2 separate regions of the Homo sapiens genome follow, and region 1 is linked to region 2. Evidence: promoter capture Hi-C in human tissues and cell types (Jung and others, 2019). All regions are on one chromosome and are shown on one strand. The core of a region is centred on a gene start or on the middle of the fragment in contact, and the rest is flanking DNA. Distances in the headings are between cores, read along the strand shown.

Region 1 (6,763 bases), core at 1,565-4,064, 200 kb before region 2:
GGCAAACCACAAAATCCTAGGAACCCACCGCCCCAGGGAATGGTCCCACAGACACAGATGACCCATTTCCATCCCGGAGGTAAAGGCCCCTATGTTGGTCTAGGTGGGAGGATCATAGAGGGGTGATCCTGAGAAAGGAGTGACCCCCTTCCCACCTCTTAGGTTTTTAATGCCCCAAAGCCAAAGTGGACCCAGCTCTCTGGGAGAAAGTTACAGAACTGGGGTAAGTATCCCTGGCTGGGGGCAGGAGTGATTCTGGGATGTAGGCTGGGGCAGGGGACTCAGGTCCAATAGACTTAAGACATCAGAGGGTCCCTGACAGCTCAAGGGGCCCCAAGAGCCAGGAGGATTCTGAAGGGGTCAGTGGAGGTCCTGAGGGATTAGGGATTTCCTGATGAGTTGGGAGTATCTGAAAGGGACCTGTGGTCTGGAGAAGTGAGGAAACCTCTGAAGGACCCAGTGGCTATCTCCAAACGGTCAGGGGTCCCTGAGAGGATCAGGGTGCTTCCAGCCACTGTGGAATCCCTAATGGGGGATCTATTGCTATAGGGGGGCCCTCAGGACCCCATTGCCTTCCCCAGGTGGGCTTCCTCATCCCCGAGGGATGGTTCCTGAGCGGCTGCCCCCATGGCTCCAGCGCTACGTGGACAAAGTGTCAAACCTCAGCCTCTTTGGAGGCCTCCCAGCTAACCATGTCCTCGTGAACCAGTATCTGCCTGGGGAGGGCATCATGGTAACCACACACCCTCGGCCCGTGTCCCCCCACTCAGACTTCTGAGCTGTGCTGGGGCAGGGGACTCTGTACCCACCCTCACTCATTAGGCAGCCACATCTCCCAAACAGGCATTCACCTCCCTGTCCCTGGCTTGGGAAGCCCCCCTTTGACCCAGAGGGTGGGGGTTGTGGACTCCTGCCCTGCCCAGCCCTGGTGCCCACTCCCTAGCCCCACGAGGACGGACCACTGTACTACCCGACTGTCAGCACCATCAGCCTGGGCTCCCACACCGTGCTGGACTTCTACGAGCCGCGGCGGCCAGAGGACGATGACCCTACAGAACAGGTGGGCCCCCAGACACTGCCCCAGCTGCTTGTAGGCACTTCAACCTCGCACATCCTCCAAGATGACCTGGTCCCACATGCCTTCGGGGTACTCCTGGCACTCTCCCAGATACCTTCCCTTGTCCCCTCATGGGGTGTACCCACTTCCTCCCAGACACCCAACCCATCTGCTTACAGGGTGTCTGTCCCACATGCCATGATTTTCACAGGCTCCCCGATGCCCCAACCTGCTGAATGGATACCCCTGACTCCCCAGCAGACACTGATATCCTTAGATACCCCACCGCCATTAACTCGGGGGGCCTCACCTCCTCCCAGATGCTCTATCTGCCCCTGCTCAGGGTGCCCCAGACGTCCTGCTACTCCAGGAATGTGATTTGGGGTGCAGGACACCCCCAGATTCTCCTTGACCCCTTGACACAATTTCTCTGAGTGATGCATTTCTAGCACCCCAGTGTTCACAGAAACGCCCCTGAACACGCCGACCCACTCCTTGAGGCTTGCCCTCGAGCCCTGCATGCTCCTGGATGCTCTGACACTCCCTCAGCTGTGCGGTTGTCCTCTAATGTCCTGATGTCCTTGGGAACCCCCACTGCCTCTAACCTCTGCCTCACTCTCTCCTCACCTGGTCCTGGCTTCAGCCATGCTCTCTCAGCCCAGCTCTGCCTGTATTTCCTGGGGACTGCCTATTCCTGGGTCCCAGCCCCAGCCTCAGCCCCTTTGAGATCCCAGCTGCAGCTCCCACCGGCCGCTGACCCTTTGACGCCCCCATCTGCCACCTAGATCCTGCCCCCTCCCGAGGGACGGCAGAGCCCTCGCCCTCCCTTTCCAGCAGCCCCAGCCCAGGCCCCAGCAATTTTCACTCCTGAACCACCAAAGCCTCCATCATTGTGAGCACACTTGCTCTTCAGCTTTTGCCCCTGGGGACTAGCTGATCCCCGGAGGCTACCGACCTCTCGCCCACCCCCACCCCCCGACTTCTTGAGCCCTGCTGACCCTCAACCCGCCCTGCAGCCTCGGCCTCCGCCCCGGCCCACCACCTCGCTACTGCTGGAACCGCGCAGCCTGCTGGTGCTCCGCGGCCCCGCCTACACGCGTCTTCTCCACGGCATCGCCGCCGCCCGCGTAGACGCGCTGGACGCCGCCTCCTCGCCGCCCAATGCGGCAGCCTGCCCGTCGGCGCGGCCGGGAGCCTGCCTGGTGCGCGGCACCCGGGTCTCGCTGACCATCCGCCGCGTGCCCCGCGTGCTGCGCGCCGGCCTCCTGCTGGGCAAGTGACCGCCAGGGCCGGGACCCCTCGGATTCCCAGGTTCCTGCCCCTTTGGGGCTGCTGTGACTCCGCGACCTAGGAACCGTGGGCAAAGGGGGCTCCCCTGGGTTATTTATTTTCCCAATAATTTTGTGTGAGCTACAGAAGACCCCATACCAAATAAACAAAAAAATCTTTCCTTGGTTTTATATTTTTATTTTTTAGGGGCCAGATGCTTGGTTTCCTGAGGGGAGCGGCATCTAGGGTCTTAAATGAATGGGGTAGGCCCTGGAGGTCCGATTTCTGGGTTCCCAGTGGGGCAGAATCCAGGGCTCTTGAGGAGGTGGCGCAGGGGTTCTATCTGGAACCCTCTTGGATGGCGTGGAGTGATGCTGGGAGATTTAGCTACTGGCCTGCTAGGGAGGAAGGAGTTAAGTGACTCTTCTGTCACCTGAGCTGGGCATCAAATGGCCGGGTCCAGGTTCCTCTTGGAAGGGGCGGAGCCAGACCTGTCCTGGGCCTCTCCTGCAGCCTCAGGCCCGGGTGACTCCAGCGGAGGAGCTCTGGGACACCCTTGTCTAGGGAAGAGGTCTTACTGGCTGCCCTCACCTGACTTTGTGTCCCCAGGCCCCCAGCCATGGCCCTGTCCCTGCCTCTGGGCCCTAGACTTGGCTCAGAGCCCCTCAACCACCCACCGGGAGCACCTAGAGAGGCGGACATTGTTGGATGCACCGTCTGCCCCGCGTCCGGAGAGGAGAGCACGAGGTGGGGGCCGGGGCTTTGGAAGCTTGTTCCCAAAAGGGTAGGCGTGGTGGCAGGGGCCATGTGAGGGTAGGAGGTGCCATGGCTGTGATCGCCTGGGGACATAGGAGAGGCCACCAGGGTTGGGGTGACGGTAGGCTGAAAAGTGAGGTGTCGAGACTCACCCAGTCACCGCCCCCTGCCTCCTAGCCCAGAGCAGGCCCAGACCCTGGGACAGGACTCCTTGGGCCCTCCTGAGCACTTCCAGGGTGGGCCAAGGGGCAATGAGCCTGCCGCTCACCCCCCGAGATGGTCAACACCCTCTTCCTACGAGGACCCAGCTGGGGGCAAACACTGTGAGGTGAGCTGAGGTGACCCAGACCCCTTGTGCCAGCCCCACCTCCTCTCTGTCCCCTGGAGTCTGGCCTCCATACTGAGGACCGGGTGATGATTCTGGAAAGGTGTTGGGTGTCTGTAGGGGGAGGGACCTTCTGGAAAAGTGTTTCAATATCTGACCAACTGGGGAGACGTATTTCTTTCTTTCTTTTTTTTTTTGAGATGGAGTCTCTCTGTCACCTAGGCTGGAATGCAGTGGTGAGATCTCTGCTCACTGCAACCTCCGCCTCCCAGGTCCCAGTGATTCTCCTGCCTCAGCCACCCGAGTAGCTGGGATTACAGGCACATGCCACCATACCTGGCTAATTTTTTGTATTTTTAGTAGAGATGGGTTTTCGACTTGTTGGCCAGGCTAGTCTCGAACTCCCGACCTCAGGTGATCCACCCACCTCAGCCTCCCGAAGTGCTGGGATTACAGGCGTGCGTCACCGTGTCCAGCCATATTTCTTTTTTATTAAAAAAAAAAAAGTAGAGATGATGTCTCACCATGTTGCCCAGGCTGGTCTTGAACTCCTGGGCTCAAGTGATCCTCGGGCCTCGGCCTCCCAAAGTGCTGGGATTACAGATGTGAACCACTGCGCCCGGCTGAGAAGCATTTCATCATTGCTCCTGGTGTAGCCCCATTCTTCTTGGGGGGTACCCAGCCCCGCTCCCTGTCCAGACCCCCCAGGCCTCACACATCCAAGTTTCCAGGAGCTTTGAAAACCTGGAGACCTTGAACTAGATATCTGTCCTCAGGCCTGGCTCCACTGGGAAGGCCCCCCCAGTGGGAGCCATCCTGGTGCAGACAGACCCGGAGATGGACTGTGCCACAGAGAAGTTTCCAGAAGCTTACAGAAGAGGGGTGGGGATGGGAGCAGGGGTGATATCTTGATTGGCCCACTGGCCCTGACCTGGCTCCTGTGTTCCCCAGCACCCCATTTCTGGCCTGGAGGTACTAGAGGCTGAGCAGAACAGCCTGCACCTGTGCCTGCTGGGGCTGGGCCGCCGGCTGCAGGACCTGGAGCAAGGCCTGGGGCACTGGGCATTGGCCCAGAGTGGGATGGTGCAGCTGCAGGTAGGCAGGAGAGGCCAGGATGTGGGGGTGGGCACGGCCCCAGCAGTGGGTGCCAGCTTTCCGGGATGGGAAATGGGTTGAGTGCATGTTCCAGGCCTTTGGATAGGAAATGGGGGAGGGGGGTAACTCCAGGTTTTGGGTCCCTGGTGTGTGCGTGGGGTGATGTCCATATGTCCCCAGGCCCTCCAGGTGGACCTACGAGGGGCAGCTGAGCGTGTGGAGGCGCTGCTAGCGTTTGGTGAGGGGCTGGCACAGCGGAGTGAGCCCAGGGCCTGGGCAGCCCTGGAGCAGATCCTGCGGGCCCTGGGAGCTTACCGAGACTCCATCTTCCGGCGGCTCTGGCAGCTGCAGGCCCAGCTGGTCAGCTACAGCCTGGTAGGGCCCATCTTGATACCCCCCACCCAACCCAGGCCCCAACCTCATAGCCTCCATGACCTCTGTCCTTTGACCCAGGTGTTCGAGGAGGCCAACACGCTGGACCAGGACTTGGAGGTCGAGGGAGACTCGGACTGGCCAGGACCTGGTGGGGTCTGGGGGCCCTGGGCACCCAGTAGCCTCCCCACTTCCACAGAGTTGGAGTGGGATCCGGCGGGGGACATTGGGGGCCTTGGGCCCTTGGGACAAAAGACAGCCCGGACACTAGGAGTGCCCTGTGAGCTGTGTGGCCAGAGGGGGCCCCAGGGCAGGGGACAAGGCCTTGAGGTGAGAGCAGACCCCCTTGAGGGACCTTCTGCCAGGCACCCTGGGGACATCTCTGCGCACCTTCTAGCAAGATCCTGCCCTTCCAAGGAGGTGTCAGTGGCTCTGTCTCCCCCTCTATCTCTGTCTCTCGGTGTCTCCTTCTATCTCACTGTTTCTCTCTCTCGTCTGTCTCTGTCTACATCCTCAAGCCCCATCTCAAATTCACTCCTATCCTGAGGCCCCCAGATGATGCCCCACTCACCTCCTGACTGTCCCAGTCTCTCCTGAAGTGCCACCTCTTCAGGGAGGCCTGTCGTGACCTCCAAACATGAGCACTCCTATCTTCTTACTTTATTTCCTAACAGCACTCACCACAGCTTGACTTTGTACATTTACTTATTTTTAAAAATTTTTATTTATTTTTTGAGATGGAGTCTCACTCTGTCACCCAGGCTGGAGTGTAGTGGTGCAATCCTGGCTCACTGCAAACTCTGCCTCCCAGGTTCAAGAGATTCTCCTACCTCGGCCTCCCGAGTAGCTGGGATTACAGGTGTGCACCACCATTCCTGGCTAATTTTTGTATTTTTAGTAGAGATGGGGTTTCATCATGTTGGCCAGGCTAGTCTCGAACGCCTGACCTCAGGTGATCCGCCTGCCTTGGCCTCCCAAAGTGCTGGGATTACAGGCATAAGCCACTGTACCAGGCCTCATTTACTTATTAATTTATGGTCTCTCTCCTGTCAAATATAAGCTCCACGGAGGCCAGGAATTTGCCTATTTCCATCCCCACTGTGTCCTCAGCTCCTAGAACAGTTCCTGGCTTGTAACAGAAACTCATTACACATTTATTGAATGAATGAATAAATAATTCTCTCCTCTCTTGGTTTCTTTGGCTCTGCCTTTGTCTGTCCTGTGAGATCTCTCTGCTCCCCCAGAATCTCATCTCTATGACATCCCTATCCTGGCCCTCCCCCAACCACGTTTTTCTTTGTTGCTGGTTCTCCAGGAAGCAGACACCTCTCACTCCCGACAGGACATGCTGGAGTCTGGCCTCGGCCACCAGAAACGCTTAGCACGTCACCAAAGACACTCCCTGCTCCGGAAGCCTCAGGTGAGCCAGTTCTCAACCAGGTGTAGCACTCAGGAATCTTGATGGCAAGTGACAGAAACCCAAGAAATCAAAAGGCACAAGAAAGGGAATGCTATTAAAAAAAAAAAAAGTAATGGAAAGGTCCAGGCACTGTTGAATTCAGAGCCTGAAGTAATACCAGGGCCAGGCCAGGCGCAGTGGCTCACGCCTGTAATCCCAGCACTTTGGGAGGCTGAGGTGGGTGGATTACCTGAGGTCAGGAGTACGAGACCAGCCTGGCCAAAATGGTGAAACCCCGTCTCTACTAAAACTACAAAAATTAGCCAGGTGTGGTGGCGCATGCCTGTAATCCCAGCTACTCAGGAGGAGAATCGCTTGAGCCCGGGAGGCGGAGGTTGCGGTGAGCCGAGATCCCACCACTGCACTCCAGTCTGAGCAACATAGTGAGACCCCATCTCAACAAAAAAAAAAAAAAAAAAAAAAAAAAGAA
Region 2 (6,667 bases), core at 2,753-5,252:
CCCATTCAACAAAAATAAGTCCATTCAACAAAAATAAGTCCTGTGTTAAGCAGTAGGGATAAATTAATGACAAAACCAAATGTGACCCCCCGACCTCATGGTGTTCACAGTCTAGCAGGGGCGTGGGGAGAGAAACTGAGTCTTCACTCACAGACGAATAAACATGACAAGAGCTACAAGGCTGGTGTTAAAATGTGAAAGGGTAAAACTCCCCCTCATCTGGGAGGGGCTGCTCAAGGCAGACCTCCTTGAGGGGGTGTCTTAAACCCTGACACCTGAGGGCAGGTGGGAGTTAATTAGGGAAAGAAGGAAGGGTGGAGTTTTCAGGGAAAAGGAACAGCGGAAATGCAACAGCAGGAAGCTGGGTGTGTTCCAGGGACAGTGAAAAGACAAAGAGGGAGGGAGGACCCCATTTAGAGAGGCTAAGGTGTCCGATTGTAGGGGCCGTGCCTCTTCACCTGGGTGAACATTTGAACCACCAGGGGAGCTTTCAACACCCCAATGCCTACCCAGTAATCACATTTCTGGGGATGAGGCCCTAGGCTGGGCGTGGTGGCTCACGTCTGTAATCCCAGCACGTTGGGAGGCCAAGGTAGGCGGATCATCTGAGGCCAGGAGTTCAAGACCAGCCTGGTTAATATGGTGAAACCCCGCCTCTCCTAAAAGTACAAAAATTAGCCGGGCATGGTAGCAGACACCTGTAATCCCAGCTACTTGGGAGGCTGAGGCAGGAGAATCACTTGAACCTGGGAGGCGGAGGTTGCAGTGAGCAGACATCTGCAGCCTAGGCAACAGAGCAAGATGGAGCCAAAAAAAAAAAGAAAAGAAAAAAAAGGCAGGCCAAGTACAGAGGCTCATGCCTATAAGCTTAGCGTTTGGGAGGCCAAGGTAGGAGGATTGTTTGAGCCTAGGAGTTTGAGGCTGTAGTGAGCCATGATCATGCTGGAGCATTCCAGCCTGGGTGACAGAGTGAGATCCCCCATCACAAAAAAGAAAGGAAAAAAAAATTTTTTTAAATTTAGCTGGGCATAGTGGCATGTGCCTATAGTCCCAGCTACTTGGGAGGCAGAGGTGGGAGGATCACCTGAGCCTGGGAGGTTGAGGCTGCAGTGAGCCGAAATTGTGCCACTGCACTCCAGCCTGGGCAACAGAGTGAGACCCTGTCTCAAAAATGAATAAATAAATAAATACACACATACATACATACATACATACATAAATAAGAAAATAAATAAAAATTTCAAGGCCGGGCGCAGTGTGGCTCACGCCTGTAATCCCAGCAGTTTGGGAAGCCGAGGCGGGTGGATCACGAGGTCAGGAGATTGAGACCATCCTGGCTAACATGGTAAAACCCCGTCTCTACTAAAAATACAAAAAATTAGCCGGGCGTGGTGGTGGGTGCCTGTAGTCCCAGCTACTCGGGAGGCTGAGGCAGGAGAATGGCATGAACTCAGGAGGCGGAGCTTGCAGTGAGCCAAGATTGCGCCACTGCACTCCAGCCTGGGGGACAGAGCAAGACTCCGTCTCAAAAAAAAAAAACTTACAATGTGAGGGCCAGGTGCCGTGGCTCATGCCTGAAATCCCAACACTTTGGGAGGCCCAAGGTGAGAGGACTGCTTGAGTCCAGGGGTTCAAGACCAGCCTAGGCAGCATAGTAAGACTCTGTCTCTACCAAAAAAACAATTAAAAATTACCCTCGGTGTGATCACATGCACCTGTAATCCCAGCTACTTGGGAGGTGGAGGTGGTGGGTGGGGGGATTGCTTGAGCCCAGAAGTTTGAGGCTGCAGTGAGCAGTGATCACCCCACTGCACTCCAGCCTGGAAGACAGAGCAAGACTCTGTCTCAAAAACAAAACAAAAAAAACCTTACAATGTGAACAACTATGAATCATCATCCATGTTAAGACCTAGGACTCCTAGGACCTAGAAGCCACTGCCAGGCACAGTGGCTCACACCTGTAATCCCAGCACTTTGGGAGGCCAAGGCAGGTGGATCATGAGGTCAGGAGTTCAAGACCAGCCTGGCCAAGATGGTGAAACCGTGACTCTACTAAAAACACAAAAGTTAGCCAGGCGCGGTGGCAGACGCCTGTAATCCTAGCTACTCGGGAGGCTGAGGCAGGATAATTGCTTGAACCCGGGGGCAGAGGCTGTAGTGAGCCGAGATCGTGCCACTGCACTCCAGCCTGGGCAACAGAGTAAGACTCTGTCTCAAAAAAAAAAAAAAAAAAAAAAAAAGACCTAGGACTTCACGCCTGTAATCCCAGCATGTTGGGAGGACAAGTAGGGTGGATCACTTGAGGTCAGGAGCTCAAGACCAGCCTGGCCAACATGGTGAAACCCCATATCTACAAAAATACAAAAATTAGCCAGGTGTGGTGGTGGGTGCCTGTAGTCCCAGCTACTCAGGGGGCTAAAGCAGAAGAATCACTTGAACCCGGGAGATGGGGGTTGCAGTGAGCCGAGATCGCACCACTGCACTCCAGCCTGGGTGACAGAGCAAGGATACGTCTAACAAAACAAAACAAAAAAATTAAGACATATGGTTTCCATTTTAAAAAAAGAAAATAGGATATAGAAGTCCCCATATCCCTCTACCCCATTACAATTCCTCCCATCCCCCACAATCAACCACCTCTCTGACTTCTGTGATAATCATGTCCTTACTTTTCTTGTCCTCATAGTTTGACCACCCACGCATGTATTCCCAACATTTTACTGCAGTTTCACTTTCCTTGCTTTTATATTTATTGAAAAGTATAGACCAGCCACAGTGGCTCATGCCTGTAATCCCAGCACTTTGGAAGGCTGAGGCGGGCAGATCACCTGAGGTCGGGAGTTCAAGACCAGTCTGACCAACATGGAGAAACCCTGTCTCTACTAAAAATACAAAATTAGTGGGGCGTGGTGGCACATGCCTGTAATCCCAGCTACTCTGGAAGCTGAGGCAAGAGAATCGCTTGAACCCGGGGGGTGAAGGTTGCAGTGAGCTGAGATTGTGCCATTGCACTCTAGCCTGGGCAACAAGAGTGAAACTGTGTCTCAAAAAAAAAAAAAAAAAAAAAAAAAAAAGAATAATACAGCTTGCCCTGTTTGGTGTCTGGCTTCTTTCACTTGACATTGTGAGATTCAGCCACACAGTTGTGTGTATCAGTATCCATTCTTTTTCATTACTGTATAGTATTCCATTGCATAACTACACCACCATATATGTATCCATTCTCCTTTTGATGGACATTTGGGTAGTTCAGACACTGCTCCTCTGAACATTCTTTCCTGTACATGTTTCCTGCTGTCCATGTTTAAGGTCTCTAGGATATGTACTTAGCATGGAACAGCTGGGTTATATAGGTTATTTGTCTTTTCTTTTTTCTTTTTTTGGCGACAGAGTCTCACTTTGTCACCCAGGGTGGAGTGCAGTGGCACAATCACAGCTCACTGCACCCTTGACCTCCCAGGCTCAAGAGATCCACCTTCCTCGGCCTCCTGAGTAGCTAGGACCACAGGTGTGTGCCACCACACACAGTTAATTTTTGTATTTTTTGTAGAGATGGGGTCTCACTATGTCGCCCAGGGTAGTCTCAAACTCCTCGGTCTTGGCCTCCCAAAGTGTTGGGATTACAAACGTGAGAACCGTATTTTCAAATGTATTCAATAACACTACAGCGTTTCCAATTTTAAGAGGAAGCAATTGCCACAAAAGTGATTAAGTAGCCTGTCCTGGATCACAAAGCCCGGTGTCCTGAGCCCAGGGATCCTTGCTCCGGAGCCCCTGCTTTCCCCAGCACATGGTGGTTACCTAATAAGTGCAGGCTGTTGTGCTGAGCATTCTTGGGGGCTGTTACTGGGGTTCACCTCCCGTTTCCGTTACTCTGAACTCTGTCCCCATTTGTTAATAATTAATTGCCCCCAAGGAGCCTGTGATCCTGAGGCTTTGCCCAGTTAATCAGTCACTGCCCCTGGTCTGGGCAAGGGGCAGTTGGTGAACTTGCTGCCTCCAGAGAACCTTCCCTGGTGTGGAGGCAGCCAGGGACCCAGGATGCTCCGGACCTGTTACGTGCTCTGTTCCCAAGCTGGTCCCCCCTCCAGGGGCTGGCAGTCCCTGAGCTTTGATGGCGGGGCCTTCCACCTTAAGGGCACAGGAGAGCTGACACGGGCCTTGCTGGTTCTCCGGCTGTGTGCCTGGCCCCCACTCGTCACTCACGGGCTGTTGGTGAGCAGTGATCCTGAGGACCAGCCTGGAGGCTCCTCATAGCCTGGCGCTGAGCCCTCGCTCCCTGTCACCCAGCTCCAGGCCTGGTCTCGGCGACTCCTGGGCTCCCGGCTCTCAGGCGCATTTCTCCGAGCATCCGTCTATGGGCAGTTTGTGGCTGGTGAGACAGCAGAGGAGGTGAAGGGCTGCGTGCAGCAGCTGCGGACCCTCAGCCTCCGACCACTGCTGGCAGTGCCCACTGAGGAGGAGCCGGACTCTGCTGCCAAGAGTGGGTGAGTAGGGAGCCAGGGCCCAGGGAGGCTGGGAGGACGCAGGAAGGGGCTTTGCTGTTCGGGCCCTGACACCTGCTGGCTGGGCAGTGAGGCGTGGTATGAGGGGAACCTCGGTGCTATGCTGCGGTGTGTGGACCTGTCACGGGGCCTCCTGGAGCCCCCCAGCCTGGCTGAGGCCAGCCTCATGCAGCTGAAGGTGACGGCGCTGACCAGTACTCGGCTCTGTGTAAGGAGTGCAAAGACGGGGGTGCGGGGAGGGCGCGGCTGCCCATCGGGCTCCCCTCACCACCCCGCCTACCACCCCATTTCAGAAGGAGCTAGCCTCGTGGGTCAGAAGGCCAGGAGCCTCCTTGGAGCTGAGCCCCGAGAGGCTGGCTGAAGCTATGGACTCTGGGCAGGTAAGGATCTCAAGCGGGACTGTCGGGGACAGAGTGCCTTGGACTTAGATGCGGCCACACCGCACGCCAGATGTTCAAAATGCTACGGCCACCTCCAGGCTTGGAACAGCCAGCAGAAGTGCAGCTGTAGCTCCCAGGCATGGTTGAAATGGATGGAATCAGGGTCATCTGGGTTCTCAGGGAGGAGCCTGGAGGCTGGAGGCTCTCAGAGGAGGGATTGGGATAGAAGCTGTTTATCAATTAGAAGGAGGTACATCAGTGTGTTCTCAGTCAACACAGCTGCATGGGTGTGAGCTGGCTGGGTGTAAGTTCTGATTAGGCCAATGGGGTCTTAGTTTGTTCATTCAATCATTAATTCCTTTTTATCTCCACATTCTCTTTCAACCCTACTCCATCTTTTTTTCTTTCTTTCTCTCTCTCTCCTTCCTTCCTCTTCCTCTTTTGCTCTCTCTCCTTCCTTCCTTCTTTTCTTTTTCCTTCTCTCCCCTCCCTCCCTCCCTCCCTTCCTTCCTTCCTTCCTTTATTCCTTCCTTCCTTCCTTCTCTCTCCTCCCTCCTCTCTCTCTCTCTCTCTCTTTCTCTTTGTCTTACTGTATTGCACAGGGTGGTCTCTAACTCATGGCCTCAAGCAATCCCCCAGCCTCAGCCCCCCAAAGTTCTGGGATTATAGGTGTGAGCCACCACACCCAGCCTGCCGTCTTGTATAATGCATATCTTTTTGTTTCTATGATTTTGTTTTGCCAGGTGTATACCATTCGTGGGGGGCATATTTTCCCCAATATTCTATTATAAAAATTTTCAAATATACAGAAAAGTAAAAAGAATTGTACATGAACATCCATGCCCCCGCCACCTTTAACTATACTCACTTTAAATCATATCTATCCCTCTATTCCTCTATCCATCCATCAATCCATCTTATTTTTTGGTGCATTTCAAAGTAAATTGCAGACATGTTTTCCCCCTAAATGCTTCAGGATATGAATAATGGGCTCATTAATTAGAGCCCAATAATTATTCGCAGTACTTTTTTTCTTTCAAGGTAAAACAATGAACTACACACATTGTAAATGTGCCCTTTGATGAACCTTAACCAATACACACACTTGAGCAATCCAAATCCCTATCAAGATTTAGAACATGGCCGGGGGCAGTGGCTCACGCCTGTAATCCCAGCACTTTGGGAGGCTGAGGCGGATGGATTACTGGAGGTCAGGAGTTCAAGACCAGCCTGGCCAACATGGTAAAACTCCGTCTCTACTAGAAATACAAAAATTATCTGGACGTGGTGGCACACACCTGTAGTCCCAGTTACTTGGGAGGCTGAGGCAGGAGAATCGCTTGAACCGGGAGGCGGAGGTTGCAGTAAACCGAGATCGTGCCACTGCACTCCAGCCTGGTGACAGAGTAAGACTCCGTCTCAAAAAAAAAAAAAAAAATTCTTCTTGCCTCACCCTCCCAAATTGTTGGGATTATGGGCTGAGCCACCATGCCCGGCCCCCACTGTTTCCAATAGTTGATTCTAGCTGCTGCATGGTTTACCTCTCCTGGGGTGAACCCCTGGGTGGCCTCTGTGTCTCCACCCTCCCAAACAATGCTATAGTGGACATGCTGATGTTTCTTTTTCTAACCTTTTTTTATTTGTAATTTTTATTTGTTTATCTATTTATTTATTATTATTATTATTATTATTATTATTATTTTAAGACAGAGTCTTGCTCTGTTGCCCAGGCTGGAGTGCAGTGGCGCAATCTCTGCTCACTGCGACCTCCGCCTCCCGGGT

The links. The method cuts DNA at HindIII sites, captures the fragments that hold promoters and counts their contacts. A contact is called where the count stands out against the background at its distance.
Region 1: the fragment with the promoter of SYNE4 here is called in contact with the fragment with the promoter of PRODH2 in region 2 in 2 of the 25 tissues and cell types used here (bladder and thymus).

What each region holds. Positions count from the first base shown.
Region 1 is chr19:36,004,864-36,011,626 of GRCh38, reverse strand. It overlaps SYNE4 (spectrin repeat containing nuclear envelope family member 4), which reads left to right and starts at 2,814. Exons shown (of 8, transcript NM_001039876.3): 1 at 2,814-3,073; 2 at 3,260-3,410; 3 at 4,359-4,502; 4 at 4,683-4,877; 5 at 4,956-5,204; 6 at 6,190-6,294. The coding sequence starts at 2,946. ALKBH6 (alkB homolog 6) reads left to right here. Exons shown (of 7, transcript NM_032878.5): 4 at 163-223; 5 at 582-733; 6 at 944-1,060; 7 at 2,074-2,507. The coding sequence ends at 2,337. RefSeq lists enhancers at 2,561-3,100, 3,101-3,642. The HindIII fragment of the contact is 19,934 bases long and covers 1-3,685 here.
Region 2 is chr19:35,810,180-35,816,846 of GRCh38, reverse strand. PRODH2 (proline dehydrogenase 2) reads left to right here and starts at 4,002. Exons shown (of 10, transcript NM_021232.2): 1 at 4,002-4,215; 2 at 4,291-4,487; 3 at 4,575-4,713; 4 at 4,799-4,885. The coding sequence starts at 4,042. The HindIII fragment of the contact is 15,660 bases long and covers 1-6,667 here.